Regions from separate parts of the Homo sapiens genome. Here all the other regions are linked to region 1. Evidence: promoter capture Hi-C in human tissues and cell types (Jung and others, 2019). All regions are on one chromosome and are shown on one strand. The core of a region is centred on a gene start or on the middle of the fragment in contact, and the rest is flanking DNA. Distances in the headings are between cores, read along the strand shown. Region 1 holds the start of KCNK7 (potassium two pore domain channel subfamily K member 7). Region 2 holds the start of FAU (FAU ubiquitin like and ribosomal protein S30 fusion). Region 3 holds the start of C11orf68 (chromosome 11 open reading frame 68). Region 4 holds the start of CDC42EP2 (CDC42 effector protein 2).

What was found. The method cuts DNA at HindIII sites, captures the fragments that hold promoters and counts their contacts. A contact is called where the count stands out against the background at its distance.
Region 2: a contact is called between the fragment with the promoter of FAU here and the fragment with the promoter of KCNK7 in region 1, in 1 of the 25 tissues and cell types used here (lymphoblastoid cells).
Region 3: the fragment with the promoter of C11orf68 here is called in contact with the fragment with the promoter of KCNK7 in region 1 in 1 of the 25 tissues and cell types used here (dorsolateral prefrontal cortex).
Region 4: a contact is called between the fragment with the promoter of CDC42EP2 here and the fragment with the promoter of KCNK7 in region 1, in 2 of the 25 tissues and cell types used here (pancreas and spleen).

The regions. Positions count from the first base shown.
Region 1 is chr11:65,593,725-65,597,374 of GRCh38, forward strand. KCNK7 (potassium two pore domain channel subfamily K member 7) reads right to left here and starts at 2,076. Exons shown (of 3, transcript NM_033347.2): 1 at 1,730-2,076; 2 at 1-150. The coding sequence starts at 2,048. The HindIII fragment of the contact is 18,543 bases long and covers 1-3,650 here.
Region 2 is chr11:65,120,118-65,123,767 of GRCh38, forward strand. FAU (FAU ubiquitin like and ribosomal protein S30 fusion) reads right to left here and starts at 2,017. Exons shown (of 5, transcript NM_001997.5): 1 at 1,973-2,017; 2 at 1,622-1,704; 3 at 1,383-1,527; 4 at 864-919; 5 at 513-689. The coding sequence starts at 1,696. The coding sequence ends at 564. MRPL49 (mitochondrial ribosomal protein L49) reads left to right here and starts at 2,204. Exons shown (of 4, transcript NM_004927.4): 1 at 2,204-2,307. The coding sequence starts at 2,230. RefSeq lists enhancers at 1,975-2,064, 2,225-2,494. The HindIII fragment of the contact is 8,684 bases long and covers 1,589-3,650 here.
Region 3 is chr11:65,917,276-65,920,925 of GRCh38, forward strand. It overlaps C11orf68 (chromosome 11 open reading frame 68), which reads right to left and starts at 1,787. Exons shown (of 2, transcript NM_001135635.2): 1 at 1,635-1,787; 2 at 1-943. The coding sequence starts at 1,756. The coding sequence ends at 184. DRAP1 (DR1 associated protein 1) reads left to right here and starts at 2,151. Exons shown (of 7, transcript NM_006442.4): 1 at 2,151-2,268; 2 at 2,505-2,577; 3 at 2,673-2,766; 4 at 3,068-3,187; 5 at 3,294-3,387; 6 at 3,609-3,650. The coding sequence starts at 2,227. RefSeq lists enhancers at 904-1,823, 1,824-2,744 and a silencer at 1,541-2,610. The HindIII fragment of the contact is 24,812 bases long and covers 1-3,650 here.
Region 4 is chr11:65,313,036-65,316,685 of GRCh38, forward strand. It overlaps CDC42EP2 (CDC42 effector protein 2), which reads left to right and starts at 1,831. Exons shown (of 2, transcript NM_006779.4): 1 at 1,831-1,919. LOC105369344 (a long non-coding RNA gene) reads right to left here and starts at 1,654. Exons shown (of 3, transcript XR_007062727.1): 1 at 736-1,654. RefSeq lists silencers at 1,489-1,868, 2,329-2,458, 2,629-2,788. The HindIII fragment of the contact is 18,736 bases long and covers 1-3,650 here.

The DNA of each region.
Region 1 (3,650 bases), core at 826-3,325:
CCGCTACCCAGGCACGTGGGCGGCTGAGCACAGGCAGCAGGCAATGGCGCAGGGTGGCCACGAGAGCTAAGGAGGCTGGCAGCCCCAGGGCTGCATAGACCATGCAGAAGGCCTTTCCGCCTGGCGATAGTGGGGCCATGTGGCCATAACCTGGAGAAGAGAGAGTCAGTGGACAGTGAGAGCTCTGAGTGCCATGTCTGCTGGGGTCCCTGCCTACCCCAATACTGCCTTCCGCAGAAGGCTGCCCTCTGGTGGCCTTGAACTGGCCAGGCCCAGGTTCTAGCTGGCTCTGCTCCTCTTCGTCAGGGGATCCCTTACCCTCTCTAGGCCATTCTTTTCTTTTTTGGAAAATGAAAGGATGAAAGAAGACAGTTCCTCAGGCCTTTTGTAGCTGGGACAATTCTGAGAACTGCGCTGCCCTTAACAGATACTCCCGATTCCACAGCTGGTGGAATATCATCCACTCTTTCCCCAAATGTGTGTCATGTCCTGTGTGCCAGGCTTTGTACTGGGATCTGAATCAGCCCAGGCCCTGCCCCTTCTGGTGGGGGAGTCGGGCAGGCAAATCATGAAGGGCTGCAAAGAGGCAGCATGGGCGAGAGAGGGCATGTGCCAGGCGGGGAGGGGTGGGAGTGCGGGGTGTGCTGGGAGAACAGGATCAGCTAATACAGAGCTGCAAACGCACATGCCTACCGGAGCCAGATGGGAGACAAACAGGAGTGGTGGGGACAGGGGTACACTGGAAAGTGTGAGCTGTATCCAAAGGGCAGGCCCCATTCTGCTCCAGTCAGGATGTTGCCTTGCAGGGATTCTGGCTCAGTGTGAGTGGGTTTCCTGATTTTCCAAAAGAAGTTGGAAATATGAGCTGGGCACAGTGGCTCACACCTGTAATCCCAACACTTTGGGAGGCTGAGGCAGGTGGATCACTTGAGGTCAGGAGTTTGAGAACAGCCTGGCCAACATGGCAAAACCCCGTCTCTACTAAAAACACAAAAATTAGCCGGGCATGGTGGTGCATGCCTGTAGTCCCAGCTACTCAGGAGGCTGAGGCAGGAGAATTGCTAGAACCCGGGAGGTGGAGGTTGCAGTGAGCCAAGATCGCACCACCGCACCCCAGCCTGGGTGACAGGGTCAGACACCGTTTCAAAAAAAAAAAAAGTTGGAAATACAAATTCCAATTCAAAAAATACTGAGACACTTTGTGGGGCAAAAAATACGAAAACCCAGGGCTGTGGGTCTCATTGCTGCTTTTCCCTGGGCCTGTGCCCACGCGATTTCTCTGCAGGACTCCCTCATCCCTGTCTGTGCCCTCCTGATCCACAAGCATCTCATGCCGACTTCCTCCCCTATCTTCCCTCACTCCCCCACCCGAGGCCATGGTCCTGATCTGTCCTTCCCAGGTTCATTCTATTTGCTTCCATCCAAGAATCCATCCCACTGTATTGTATCCCCTATCTGGCCACAGGCTGTGGCATCTGGGCAGCTCTCCTGGGTCTCAAAGGGTGCCTGGGGTGGGACTGGGGAGGCCACACCCTTCCTGGCAGTTGAAGTGGAGGCACCAGTTGGGGTGTGTTGGTGGGGAGCCCCAGCTGTGATGTCAGGCCTCACAGGGCCTGGGCTCCATCTGGCTCTTTGGGGCTGAAGGAAGGGCTGCATGAACCCCAAAGCCCCCAGGGAGCCATGGCCTCTTGGAGCCGCACCCCCCGACTTGGCTGCCTGGCTCTCTTACCTGTGGTGGTGAGGATGCTGGCAGCGAAGAGCAGGGCTGAGGGAAGGTCCCAGGTCCTGCCCTCTGAGCTGTTGCCCAGGGTGGAGACCCCATGGGCCTGGGTGGCCAGGGCAGTGCCCAGCAGCTCTTCCAGAGCTCCGGGTGGCAGGCAGGCCCTATGCTCTGCCTGGAAGGCTGCCAGCTCTGCCCTGAGCTCAGCCTGAAGCCTGCATGCAGGAGGCCCCTCCAGGGCCTGGAACACCACAGCCCCAAGCCCCAGGGCCAGCAAGTGGGCCACAACCAGGAGCCCGTATCGGGACCAGGGCCTTAGACCCCCCATGGCAGGCCGCTGGGGTGCTGTGGGAACTGGCGGCTCCACCTCAGGCACCTGGGAGGGGCTGGGCAGGGCGGGGCCAGGAGGAGGTGCTGTGTGGGTGGCTGGGACCCGGCTGGGATGGCTGGGGTGGCTGGGGTGTGAACAGGAGGGAGGTGAGCTGCATCACCCTTCCCAGGTCCTGGAGGCAAGACATTTGCCCATTTCACAGCAGCTGGGATGGTGGGGATGGGTGGAGGAAGGCGGCTGCGGTGAGGGGAGGAGGCGGAGGAAGCTGAAGCCTAGAGAGGACCTCACACTTATTCAAGGTCCTGCTCACTCAGGCACCCATACCACATTCATTCATTCATTCATTCATTCAAGTGCTTAGGGAAGAGGACAGGCACAGGTCCTTTCCTTCCTGGTGTTTACACAAGAAACCTCTTAGCAAAGAAACATGGCAACCTCACATTGTCATGAGTTCCATGAAGGAAACACCCTGGGTGATGGGAGAGCTCTGCGGGGAGCGGGGGGGTTATCTCACTGGGAAAGCTCTGCTAAGGAGGTGATATTTCAGCTGGGGAGTAAGAGGCCAGTGAAGGTAGGAATGAGCTTGGGGTGTGAGAGGAACAGAGGGCTGGCTGTGGCAGGGGAGAGTTGGGGGTGAAGGGGGGATAAGGACACAGGCCCTTGAGGATAAATGTGGTCCAGGGAGACCTACGCTGGGCTACTGTAGGCGTCATGGATGGAGTGATTTTGGCCTGGGTGGTGTGGTGGGAGAGGAATGGTGGCAGCTGGGAAGGATCAGGTGGGGGTGGGAGGTGGGGAGAGGACTCCAGGGTGCCCAGAGCACCCGGGCAGATGATACCCTTGCGCCCGATTGCCAGTTCTTCCTGAGAACGCTTTGTGCCTGCCCTCCTGACTCCCTGCCCCTGAACTGCAGACACAGAGTCTGGGCTGCCATGGGGCACCTGGGAGAGGGGAAGGGGGAGCCTGGGTTCCAACTCCTCTAACGTCAGAGGGGCTGAGGACAGAGGCCAAGGAAGGGACCCAGCCCTAGGGTATGGTGTGGGAGTGCCAGAGCCCCCATGGCAGTGTGAAGAGAATGGACAGAGGCCGAGGGAGGGACCCTGCCCTAGGGTATGGTGTGGGAGTGCCAGAGCCCCCATGGCAGTGTGAAGAGAACTGTCAGGGGTGCCAGATGCCATGGCAAGTCACCATACTGGGAGGTGGGTGGAACTTACTACTCTTTTTTTTGAGATGGAGTCTCGCTCTGTCGCCCAGGCTGGAGTGCAGTGGTGCAATCTCGGCTCACTCAACCTTCGCCGCCCGGGTTCAAGCTATTCTCCTGCCTCAGCCTCCCAAGTAGCTGGGGCTACAGGCACCTGCCACCACGCCTGGTTAATTTTTGTATATATATATATTTTTTTCAGTAGAGACGGGGTTTCACCATATTGGCCAGGCTGGTCTCAAAATCCTGACCTTGTGATCTGTCCGTCTCGGCCTCCCAAAGTGCTGGGATTACAGGCGTGAGCCACCATGCCCGGCCTATGGTTTTTTGTTTTTTTTTTTTTTGAGACGGAGTCTTGCTCTGTTGCCCAGGCTGGAGTGCAGTGGCGTGATTTTGGC
Region 2 (3,650 bases), core at 767-3,266, 470 kb before region 1:
CACAGATGTGATTAGGTTACCAAGTCCGGCCAGGCAGTCACAGAGGTACAAACGAGGCCATGCTCCCAACATAATATTTACTTCTAAAACCAAGGCAGACCAGATTCCTGCCCTGGACTCTAAGGCCACAGCTGGTACCAAGTTCAGGGAACGGCCAGGTTCACCTTCTATACAAACCTCTTCCCCCACCCATCCCTTCTATTGCTGCCTCCATAACAAACCTCTCACCACAGTGATTCCTGCTACCTTCTCTGTTTAGAAGATGAAAAAGAATGACCTGGGGGGACTGATCAAGTTACTTAGGATAGGGAATAACCCCAATTTTACATCTGAAGCCCCCCAGGATCTGTAGCTGTTTCTTCACAGGAAATTTCTCTTGTAGTTTACCATTTCTTCCCCCCATACCAAAGGCTTCTGCCTTTTCTGCCTCACTGTTCTCCTAGGGGACATACCACCAACCCGAGAAGCACACCTCTCCCTGAGGCCTTGCAAGTAAAGATGAAACAATGCGATGACTGAACTAAGTGGCTTTTTTATTAGAGAAAGCCAGAATTACAAAAGACTTAAGAGTTGGCATTGGGGCCCTTCTTCTTGCCAAAGGTGGGCACAACGTTGACAAAGCGCCGGTTGTACTGCATCCGCCGCTTAGCCCGACCTGTCTTCTTCTTCTTCTTCTCCTGTTTGGCCACCTGGAGAAGGGAAGGTTAATCAGGCCCTGGTTCCTGTCTTCCACACCTAGCATCCCTTCCCTCAGGCTCATCTCCAGGGAGGGAGAAGGCAAACCGAGTAAGAGCCCAGGGACTTGGTTTAGCTGTGAAAGGAAAAAAAGTCCTAACACCATGACCACTAATACTCTCACTCACCTTAGGAGTCTGACCTCTCACTTTTCCAGCACGGGCCAGGGAACCATGGACTTTACCTGTAGTGGGAAAGGAAGGCACCAGCAGGTAAGAGCAAGAAGGTGCCACCCAGCAGAACCCCTCTTTTCTCAATTCAAGCCTTTAAAGAGAAGCTGCGCCCAATAGGTAATGAGAACAAAGTTGCAGATATTTGACCTTGAAATCTTAAGTTTCATTTCAGGATCTTCCAGCTTCTAATTTTATAGAGCACTTTGGGGGCCCTGGTCTGACCTAATTTTAGTGTGGAAGCTGATAACCAGACTAGGATCTCGTGATGTGACTGAAATACAACTACACTCTGGCTCAGTCTCCCATGGACGTCTGTGTTCAACATGAGGGATGTAAACAGGAAGAATCACTCTGAACTGAAGACAGTGAGAAGTACTCTATTACCATAGGTGTGACACTCAGCTGTCAGGACTATGCACCCCACACTCACTAGACGCTTACCGGTACTTCAAAGAACATTCCTCTCTCACTCACCTCCAAGCATGCGGCCTGCTACTTCCAGGGTAGTCAGGGCCTCCACCCCGCACTGGCCCAGAGTGGCCTCATCCTCCAGGGGCGCGCCTGCCAGGAGCACGACTTGATCTTCCGGGGCAATGCCCTCCAGTGAGGCTACATGAGCCTACAGGGAAAGATAAGGCTCGTAAGCGTTCCCTCGGGCCGCGAGAGTGAAGAGCACAAGAAAATGGAACCCAGGGCGCACCAAGCAGCCTTACCTTGATCTGGGCGACCGTTTCCTGGCCGGTCACCTCGAAGGTGTGTAGCTCCTGGGCGCGGACAAAGAGCTGCATATTGGCGACTGAGTAAAGAAAAGACGGCTTGTAAGAGAAGCCAAGAAATGCTCTGGGATAAAGGAGATTTGGGAGTGGAAAGCGGTCCAGAAACGATCGCGACGGGATGGTGGTCGCGGCGGCTCACGTGGGGAAGGCCAGGCCTCCCAAGGAGTTCGGATAGGGACTGGAGCAGGGCCACGGAGCAGGCCCCGTTCTTCGGTTCCCCCCGCGCCTTCTGACCCCGCAGCCAACCTGCTACAAGCCCTTCGGATCCAGCCAAGGCCCCATTCTTACCTGAACGGCGGTCCCAGCTACCGCGAAGATGGAGTCGAGAAAGAGGAAGAAGCGAGGGCGCGTCAGTACAGACCGTGGGCTGCGTGTCACGTCACTGCTGAGCGACCGCGCGGTTCCCTGCTATTTGTACCGCCCAAGGCAGTCCTAGCTCCGCCCCTTTACGCTCGCACCGGCGAACCTGCCTGGGCAGGCAGCTCGCGCAGGACGGGGCGGGACCAGACAGTTGCGCGCACAGAAGGCTGGCGTAGCAGGTAAAGATGGCAGCTACCATGTTCCGGGCTACGCTGCGGGGATGGAGAACCGGTGTCCAGCGGGGCTGCGGGCTACGGCTGTTGGTGAGAGCGCTGAGCGAGGAGCTGAGGGCATCGCGTGGGTGTGAGGCTCAGTGTTAATCATTGTTAACCCCGAAAACTAAGGCATTCCTACTTGGGGCCTTAGTTTTGCCGTTTTCGATCAGGAGAACTTGTCCCGAGTGTACATATAGAATCGAGAGGGAAAATGGTAGACTGGGGTGCTCTTTGGGAGCACTTAACACAGTGCCTGGCAGTGTCTATATAAGCCACAACGTTTCAGGTAAGGGGCGGGGTCCTAGCATATGAGTGTGCGTGGGGAATTATGATTGCCTTAATTCTTTTTTTTTTTTTTTTTGAGACGGAGTCTCGCTCTGTCGCCCAGGCTGGAGGGCAGTGGCGCGATCTCGGCCCACTGCAAGCTCCGCCTCCCAGATTCACGCCATCCTCCTGCCTCAGCCTCCCGAGTAGCTGGGACTACAGGCTCCCGCCACCATGCCCGGCTAATTTTTTGTATTTTTAGTAGAGACGGGGTTTCACCTTGTTAGCCAGGATGGACTGGATCTTCTGACCTCGTGATCCGCCCGCCTCGGCCTCCCAAAGTGCTGGGATTACAGGCATGAGCCGCCGAACCCGTCTGATTGCCTTAATTCTTAAGGCAATCATAAGATTAAACATCACTATATCCCGTCACAGATGTGATTAGGTTAGCAAGGCCAGCCAGGCAATCATGGAGGTACAAACAAGGCCACGCTGCCAATATAATAATATCTATTTCTAAAACCGAGACAGAAAGTTAAGCCTTAAGTTTCTAAAGGCTTGATTGACTTTTCAGAAGTGTACATATACTCTTTTGCATCCCACAGAAATCCTGAGAGGCAGACCATTCAGAGTACCTGAGCCTCCTTTCCATCCCATCTGTACCCTGCACCATGGAAAACCAAAGACTGGTGCTATCTTATGTCAACCTAAATAACAGACTCTAAAAGAAAAGGATATTTATTCGGGAATGGGTATAGACTATGTGCTTATCAGGGAGGTAAAAGAAGACAAAGGTTTTTAACAGAAAAATGGGCCAGGCACGGTGGCTCACGCCTGTAATCCCAGCACTTTGGGAGGCCAAGGCGCGTAGATCACCTGGAGTCAGGAGTTTGAGACAAGCCTGGCCAACATGGTGAAACCCGTCTCTAGAAAAAATACAAAAATTAGCCGGGTGTGATGGCGTGTGCCTGTAGTCCCAGCTACTTGGGAGGCTGAGGTAGGAGACTTGCTTGAACTTGGGAGGCGGAGGTTGCAGTGAGCCGAGATCACACCACTGCACTCCAGCCTAGGTGACAGAGTGAGACTCTATCTAAAAAAATAATAAAAATAAATAAAGGAAAGGAAAA
Region 3 (3,650 bases), core at 537-3,036, 320 kb after region 1:
GGGGCTTGTGTCAGCCCTGAACAGAGGGCAGAAGTTCAAGGGGACTGAAGATGCAGGTAGTTCCCAAGTGACCTAGGAGTCCCCAGAGCTGGGGGGTGTGGCCTTCATAGGACAAGGAGGAAGACAGGAGGATCCAACCCCAGCATGGAGGGGGGAGTGGGCAGTCTCCCCAATTTGGCCCCCCTAGGTCAGTTCCACGTTGTTGGCACGGTCAAGCACTCGGGAGCCACGGGCACTACCCCCAAGCTGGAAACGGCTCTCATAGAGAGTGGGGCAGAGGTGCCAGCGATTGGCCCGGTAGATGCCCAGGTAGGTGTAGACATCAGGCTTGTAGGTGAGCAGGCACTTAATGCCCGCTGCACGGATGGCTGAATCCGCCTCCAGTACACCCAAGCGGTCCGTGAAGTCGTCCGTGTAAACACAGATGACCTGGCGCCCACCCTCCTTGGCACGTGGGCTCACCTTGGCCACCTGAAGCTGGCCTTCAACCACGGCCCGGGCAATGCCAGCCCAGGCGTGGTCCAGCTTGAAGCCCGGTGCCAGATGCATAAGCCACTTGCCCGAGAGCACGTGGTGGGTGATGGCGAGCTGGCGCAGGGTACCCGGTGTGATGGGCCGCCCACTGGTCTGCAGAGCTTCCCAGGCTGCCTGCAGGCCCTGCACGTCCCCGGAGTTGGGGCTGTAGCCCTGCCCATACACTGCAATCCAGCCCACAGGCTCTGAGTTGGGTGAACCGGGGTCCCCATAGCGGGTAACTTGGGATGGTGGGTACTTGGCCAGCCAGGCATCCAGCTCAGTGGCAGGCGTTGTGCGGGCATCAAACACTAGCCAGGGGTCCATGTCAGCTGCCATGGCCTCTGCAGCCAGGTGCTCGGCGGTGAAGCCATCCTCACGGCCACCTGGAGAGCCCTCCTCTTCCAGCTCCTCACCTGGTTCCATCCTGCTGTGAGGGAACCGAGTCAGGGCAGGGTCTGAGACAATAACTACAGATGCCAGGCACTGGATTAAACTGTGGCCTTGAGTAAGAGTTACTGTCGATGCGCCTCAGTTGCCTCATCTTTACAATGGGATAACAACTGTTCCTGTCCCGTAGATCTGCTATGAAAATTAGATGCCTGAGGAGTCAGCGCTCCAGAAGGGTTGCTGCAGTTATTACTATTCTCCTTGACTTACAGAAAAGGAAACTGAGGCTGAGAAAAAGGACTTGCCCAAGGTCACACCTGCAGTGCGTGGCAGGGCCGAAGGGTGAATCCAGGCGTGGGAGCAACCAGCCCCAGCTACACCTCCCGGCCCTGCCAAGGCCCCCTTTTCCTGGCAGGTATCCGGTGCGCTGGCATTTAATAGAGGAACGCAAAGAAGCGCACGTTCGCGCAGCTCCCGAGGCCGGCTCTGTAAGGCCAGGCCTCCCAGGCAGGCGTTATCGGGCCCACTTACAGACGAGGACGCTGAAGTCCAGAGAGGTTACAGGCCGTTCCGAGGCCAATGGGGCGGTTCCCAGACTCGAACCAGGGCTTGTTAGAGCCTGCAGGAGAGCCAGGCTCCGGCCGTGCCGCGCCCGCCGCCATTAACGCCCACGGGCCCGAGCTGTGCTCCCGCCCCGGCCCTGCCCTGCCCCTCCCGCCGCCCGCAGTCACCTCCGGCCTTCGCTGCGTTCGACGCCGGCCCAGCCCCGGGCCCGGCTCCGCTCCTGCCGTGGCTCCGCGCCACCGCCACCGCGCCCCACCCCCGCCACGGCCGCCGCCGCCGCCGCCGCCATCTTAGCGCCGCGCCACCTCAACAACAACTTTATAGACAGGCGCAGCCACAGGGCGGAGCCGCGGGCCTCAGCGGCCGCAGCGGCCGCGCTGTGGGGCGGGGCCGGCAGGGGAAGGGGCGGGGCCGACGGGGAGGTGCTGACTCGGGGGCGGGGCCATCGCGGGAACCCCGGGAGGGGCGGGCCGCGGGGGGCGGGGCCAACGTTCGCTCTTCTGGCCTTGGGGGCGGGCGGGAGCGGCGGTCCAGACTGGGGAGGGACGCGCACCGGCCAGGAGGCTTCAAGAGGAGGGCACTAGGGCCCTGCGAGCGGCGTCTTAACCGGCGGCGCTAGGACTCCGCGGGAAACGGCGGGGGCGGAGCGGGCGGCACCAGGACCCAGGGGAACCGCGACGGGCGGGCGGCGAGCAGGCCCGGGAGCCGGGAGGCTGCGGGCGGCGGCGCTGGACCCGACGCGGCGAGAGAGGCCCCGAGATGCCGAGCAAGAAGAAGAAGTACAACGCGCGGTTCCCGCCGGTGAGCACGTGGCAGAGCCCGGCAGGAGTGGGCCCGGCTCCCGGGTGGCTTGGGCCCAGTTCCCGCTGGGCAGGCGGGCGCGCCGCGGTGTTCGGGGGCCTGGACGCCCCGCCCCCTCCATGCCCTCCCCGCGTCCGTGTCCCCCGCCCCCTTTCTCCGGGGATGCCCCTTCCTCCCCCAGCACCCCCTTAGGGGACGGTGGCGACGGGGTCTGAACTCTGCTCCCCCACCCGCAGGCGCGGATCAAGAAGATCATGCAGACGGACGAAGAGATTGGGAAGGTGGCGGCGGCGGTGCCTGTCATCATCTGTATCCTGCCGGGGGCGGACCGGGTCGAGGGGCGTGGGGGAGGGAGGCAGCGGGTCGCCCTCTCCTGCCCCGGAGTTCTCCTTGACGCTCCTCAGCCCGGGCGCTCGAGCTCTTCCTAGAGTCGCTGTTGAAGAAGGCCTGCCAGGTGACCCAGTCGCGGAACGCGAAGACCATGACCACATCCCACCTGTGAGCGGCGAGGAGCCGGGAGGGGCCGGCGGGTTTGGCGCGGGGAGTTCACACACTGAGGAAGGCAGAGCCTGGGTGGCGAGGGAGGTGGGCGGCAGCCGGGACACCAGCAAGGCCACAGACTGGCAGAGGAGAGGCTGGGCTTCCAGGCAGAGGGAGCCACCTGAGTAAAGCAGGGCAGGCCCGGGAGCGGAGATCGGCCCGGGCTCCAGCCTGACATCTGGGGCCCCTTGCTGCCACCCACTGCGGGTTTGGGTGTCTGGGCCCCTCTTGAGTGCCAGCCCCTCCTCACCTCTTCCAGGAAGCAGTGCATCGAGCTGGAGCAGCAGTTTGACTTCTTGAAGGACCTGGTGGCATCTGTTCCCGACATGCAGGGGGACGGGGAAGACAACCACATGGATGGGGACAAGGGCGCCCGCAGGTGGGGCCAGGGCCTGGCATACAGTGGGGAAGGCCAAGGCCACAGGGCTTGGGGGTGGCCAAGGAGTAGGGAGCACTCCGGGCAGATGGACTGTACCTTCCCAAAGGGGCCGGAAGCCAGGCAGCGGCGGCCGGAAGAACGGTGGGATGGGAACGAAAAGCAAGGACAAGAAGCTGTCCGGGACAGACTCGGAGCAGGAGGTGAGTGAGGCCCCAGCCCTTCGCCCTGCCCTTGGTGATGGGACAGGCAGCCTCGCCCCAGGCTGAACTGGCAGGAGGCCAGCTCTCATCCTTTTCTGCAACCTGTTTGCTCACTGGTTTATTTGTAAATTGGGGCTATGAGGGTCTACTGCTGTCCCTGCCACTCCCAGTGATGGGTTCGTGTCTTTTCTTGTCAACTCTGACCTCTGCGGTGCTCACAGGATGAATCTGAGGACACAGATACTGATGGGGAAGAGGAGACA
Region 4 (3,650 bases), core at 581-3,080, 280 kb before region 1:
GATCCACCTGCCTTGACCTCCCAAAGTGCTGGGATTACAGGCATGAGCCACGGCGCCCAGCCCTCATTGGCAATTTTCATTTCCATTTCTCATGTAACAAAACATATTCATAGATTACACAGGTTCGGATGTGGGCTTTTTTTCTTTTCTTTTTTTTTTTTTACATGGGTTTTTGCTCTATTGCCCAGGCTGGAGTGCAGTGGCGTGATCACAGCTCACTGCAGCCTTAACCTCCCAGGTTCAAGCAATTCTCCTACCTAAGCCTCCAGAGTACCTGGGACTACAGGCTTGAGCCACCATGTCCGGCTAATTTATTTGTTGTAGAAACAGGGTCTCACTATGTTGCTCAGGCTGGTGTCAGTGTCAAACTCCTGGACCCAAGCAATCCTCCCACCTTGGCCTCCCAAAGTGCTGGGATTATAGGCATGAGCCACAGCACCTGGCTAGATGTGAACATATTTAGGGGGGCTGTTATTTTACCTACCATGATCCCCTTCTTCCCATCCGGACCTCCCAGCTTGTCTGGCATCTTCCCCCACCCCCAGCATCCTGCCTCCCCCACTGAGGTCTTCCCGGCTCTGCCTCCCTAAAAGCCCTTCCCACACTGACAGCATTGAAGCCAACCATCCTGGTCACACTGAGCTGGCATAGCTGTCATCCTCTAGAAAGTGAGGTCTGTCCACCCCGTCACTACCCACCACTTCCTCTGCCCCACTCTTCTTAGCACTTACCCACCTGGAAGGGTATCATGATGTACCTGGGAACTTGGATTTCCCCCATTTCCCTTCTCTGGGCTGCAGGTCCCAATCCAGAGGCTGAATCCCCAGGGACAAGAACAGCGCTAGGCACTTGGTAGATACTCAACAAATCTCTCTTGAGTCACTGAGAGGTGCAGTTTCCTTCAGTCTGTCTCCAGCACCCTGTGCGGTGCCTGCCCTTCAAAACATGTTTCTGGGCCGGGCGCGGTGGCTCACGCCTGTAATTGCAGCACTTCGGGAGGCCGAGGCGGGCAGATCACTTGAGGTCGGGAATTCGAGACCAGCCTGGCCAACATGGAGAAACTCCGTCTCTACTAAGAATACAAAAATTAGCCAGGTGTGCTGGCACATGCCTGTAATCCCAGCTACTCGGGAGGCTGAGGCAGGAGAATCTCTTGAACCCAGGAGACGGAGGTTGCGGTGAGCAGTCTGGGCAACAAGAGCGAAACTCTGTCTCAAAAAAAAAAAAAGTTTCTGGCCCTGTAGGAATGACTGACTGACTGACTGAAAGAATGAATGGACCAGGAACTAGTCTGAATATGAGCCCCACCTTCACTCTGGAAGCCTGACAGCAAAGACGGGGGTCCAGGCCACGCGGCCTCTGCCTTCCCATACTGTCTTTTCTAGTGGGAGGTAAACTGATCAACTAGCTTGTAAGTTTGTAGTATTCTAACGTAGGCGCTTCCAAGGAAGTCGCTGAATATACTTGTGCCGGCGCTTCCCCGACGCAGCCCTGCAGGGAAGGATCCGGTCCAAGGTCTCTCTGCGATTTCTGAAGAATTCGGTCTTCCCGGAGCCTCTCCCCCGGCTCTTCTAGAACCGAAGGTTTTAGTTCCCATGGGCACAGCCGGAGGCCGCCTGCGCCACCCGGCCCTCAGCCGCCAGAACCAGGACAGGACTCCAGGGCGCGCGCGACCGCTGGACCCGGGAGCGGCACCTCCCACGCCGGGAGCCCCGGGCGGTGCCCGGAGTGGGGCGGGGCCTGGGCGGGGATGGGGAGGGGCTTGGCTGGCGCGGCCCCGGCATTGGCTCCGCGGGCCGGGGCGGGGCTGCGGGGTCCGCGGTGCACTCTGTAAGTTCACCGCCGGTCGGGTCCGGCCGCCGCGCTGTCCAGCTCCTGAGACCTTGCTGTCCGCCGGTCTGCCGTCTGCGCGCCTCACGGTGAGTTCGGGCTGGGATTTTCGCAGCTTCGCGGGGGTCCCCCGAGAGGCCCATCTCTGTGGCGCCCCGCCCCAGCTCGCGCCCTGGCTCTGCCTCTCACCTCACTCAGTTCCTTTCGAGGGCTCCTAGGGCTCCATGGGGCTTCCCACCCGCATCTGGGTTCCCGCAGCCTCGCCCGTGCCCGCCACGGTCCGTGGGGGCGCAACGCATCCCGACCCCGAATTCCCCGTTCTGCCCTCCATTTTGTGTCCGGGCCCCCGCCCCCCTCCCGAGACCCAGGGGTGCCCCGCCGCCCAGCATCCCCACCGGGGCTGGGGGCCGTATTTTTAGCCGATAGTGAGTTGTTCTCCTATCTTTAGCTGCGGCCGCGAATGTCCTGAAACGGATCCGGGCTGGGCTGGGCTCCGCCCGGGTAGGAGTGGGGAGGGGTCGGCGCAGGAACCCGAGCCGGAGCTAAGGAGCCGGACCCGTGGGAGGGGCGGGGGCCCGCACGCCCGAGCTCTGGCCCTGTGCCGAGCGGACACTAGGACATCGCCCAGGCCGGAAAGCACAGGGGGGAGGCTCCTCCCAGAGCTTGGAGACTAGGGCAGGGTCCCCAATCGCCCCCTTTTTCCCCGATTGTGGGACCAGAAACCCCGAAGCAAAAAGATCTCGCAGGTAATCCCCATCTGGTACTTGAACGCGCAGCTCCTTGGGGACCGCCTGCCTGGAGCCCGGGGGAGGGGCGCTGGAGACCCCGGTGCGCTCTCGGAGTCCTCCGGGACACGAGGCGATCAAGGGAGCACGCGCGCCACCTGGCGGCCGCGGAGCCGGGCACCTCTCCGGAGGCACCGGGACCCCGGGAGACCCAGCGGCCGCTAGAGGGTCTCTGCATCCTCGAGGTCTAGGAGGGCGGGAGGAGGTGGACGCCTGGGGTCAGGAGCCCTTCGTTTTTGCTATTGTTCAAAGCACTGGCCCCGGAGAATCGAAGTGCTTGAGGAAGGAAGGCCTTGTAGATATTTGCTGAATGAATGATAAAACCTACAGTGACCCGCTGAACCCCGCTATTGTACATTGGCGCTCTCACCTGCAATATTGCAGTGGGATCTCCAGTGGCCCTTTAGTGGTGGCTTCGTTGTCAGCCCATTTTATAGATGGGAAAGGTGAGACCCAGAGAGGAGAGGCGTCTTGCTGAAGGTTACTGAGGAAGTCCCAGGTGGAGCTGGATTTAAGGACAGTCTCCTGATTTAGGAGAAGAGGGGGTGTGAGGTGGCCTAATATTCTTCATGATAGGAGGATCCCTGCCTGCCGGAAGTCATTTTCTCATTGGGAGGTCCAGGGCTCCTGTCCAGGGCAATCACAGAGAGCTAGGATGCTCCTATCTGCTCCCCGACTGCTGCAGGGAGCTCCCCTCCCAGCTCCCCACAGCCCTGTCCTGATGGAGACCTCATTCTCATATCTCTGGACACATGAAAGTTGGGCAGACGGGGGCAGCCAAAGGTCAGGATGTAGATGGAGGAGATCTGGGGACCCACTGTTCCCAGCCTAGCTGTGAGCCCCTTTCTCTCCCGCTCCCCAAACATATTATGGAAGTAGGCGTGGCCCACTGCATGGGAACCACGTGGACCAGGCTGGGTACCCACTCTTCCACTTCCTAACTGGATGACGTCGCCAATGTTACTTAACATCTCTGAGGTTCAGCTTCGACTTCTGTAAAGGGCCGTAATGACCCCACCATGCCGTGACTGGGAG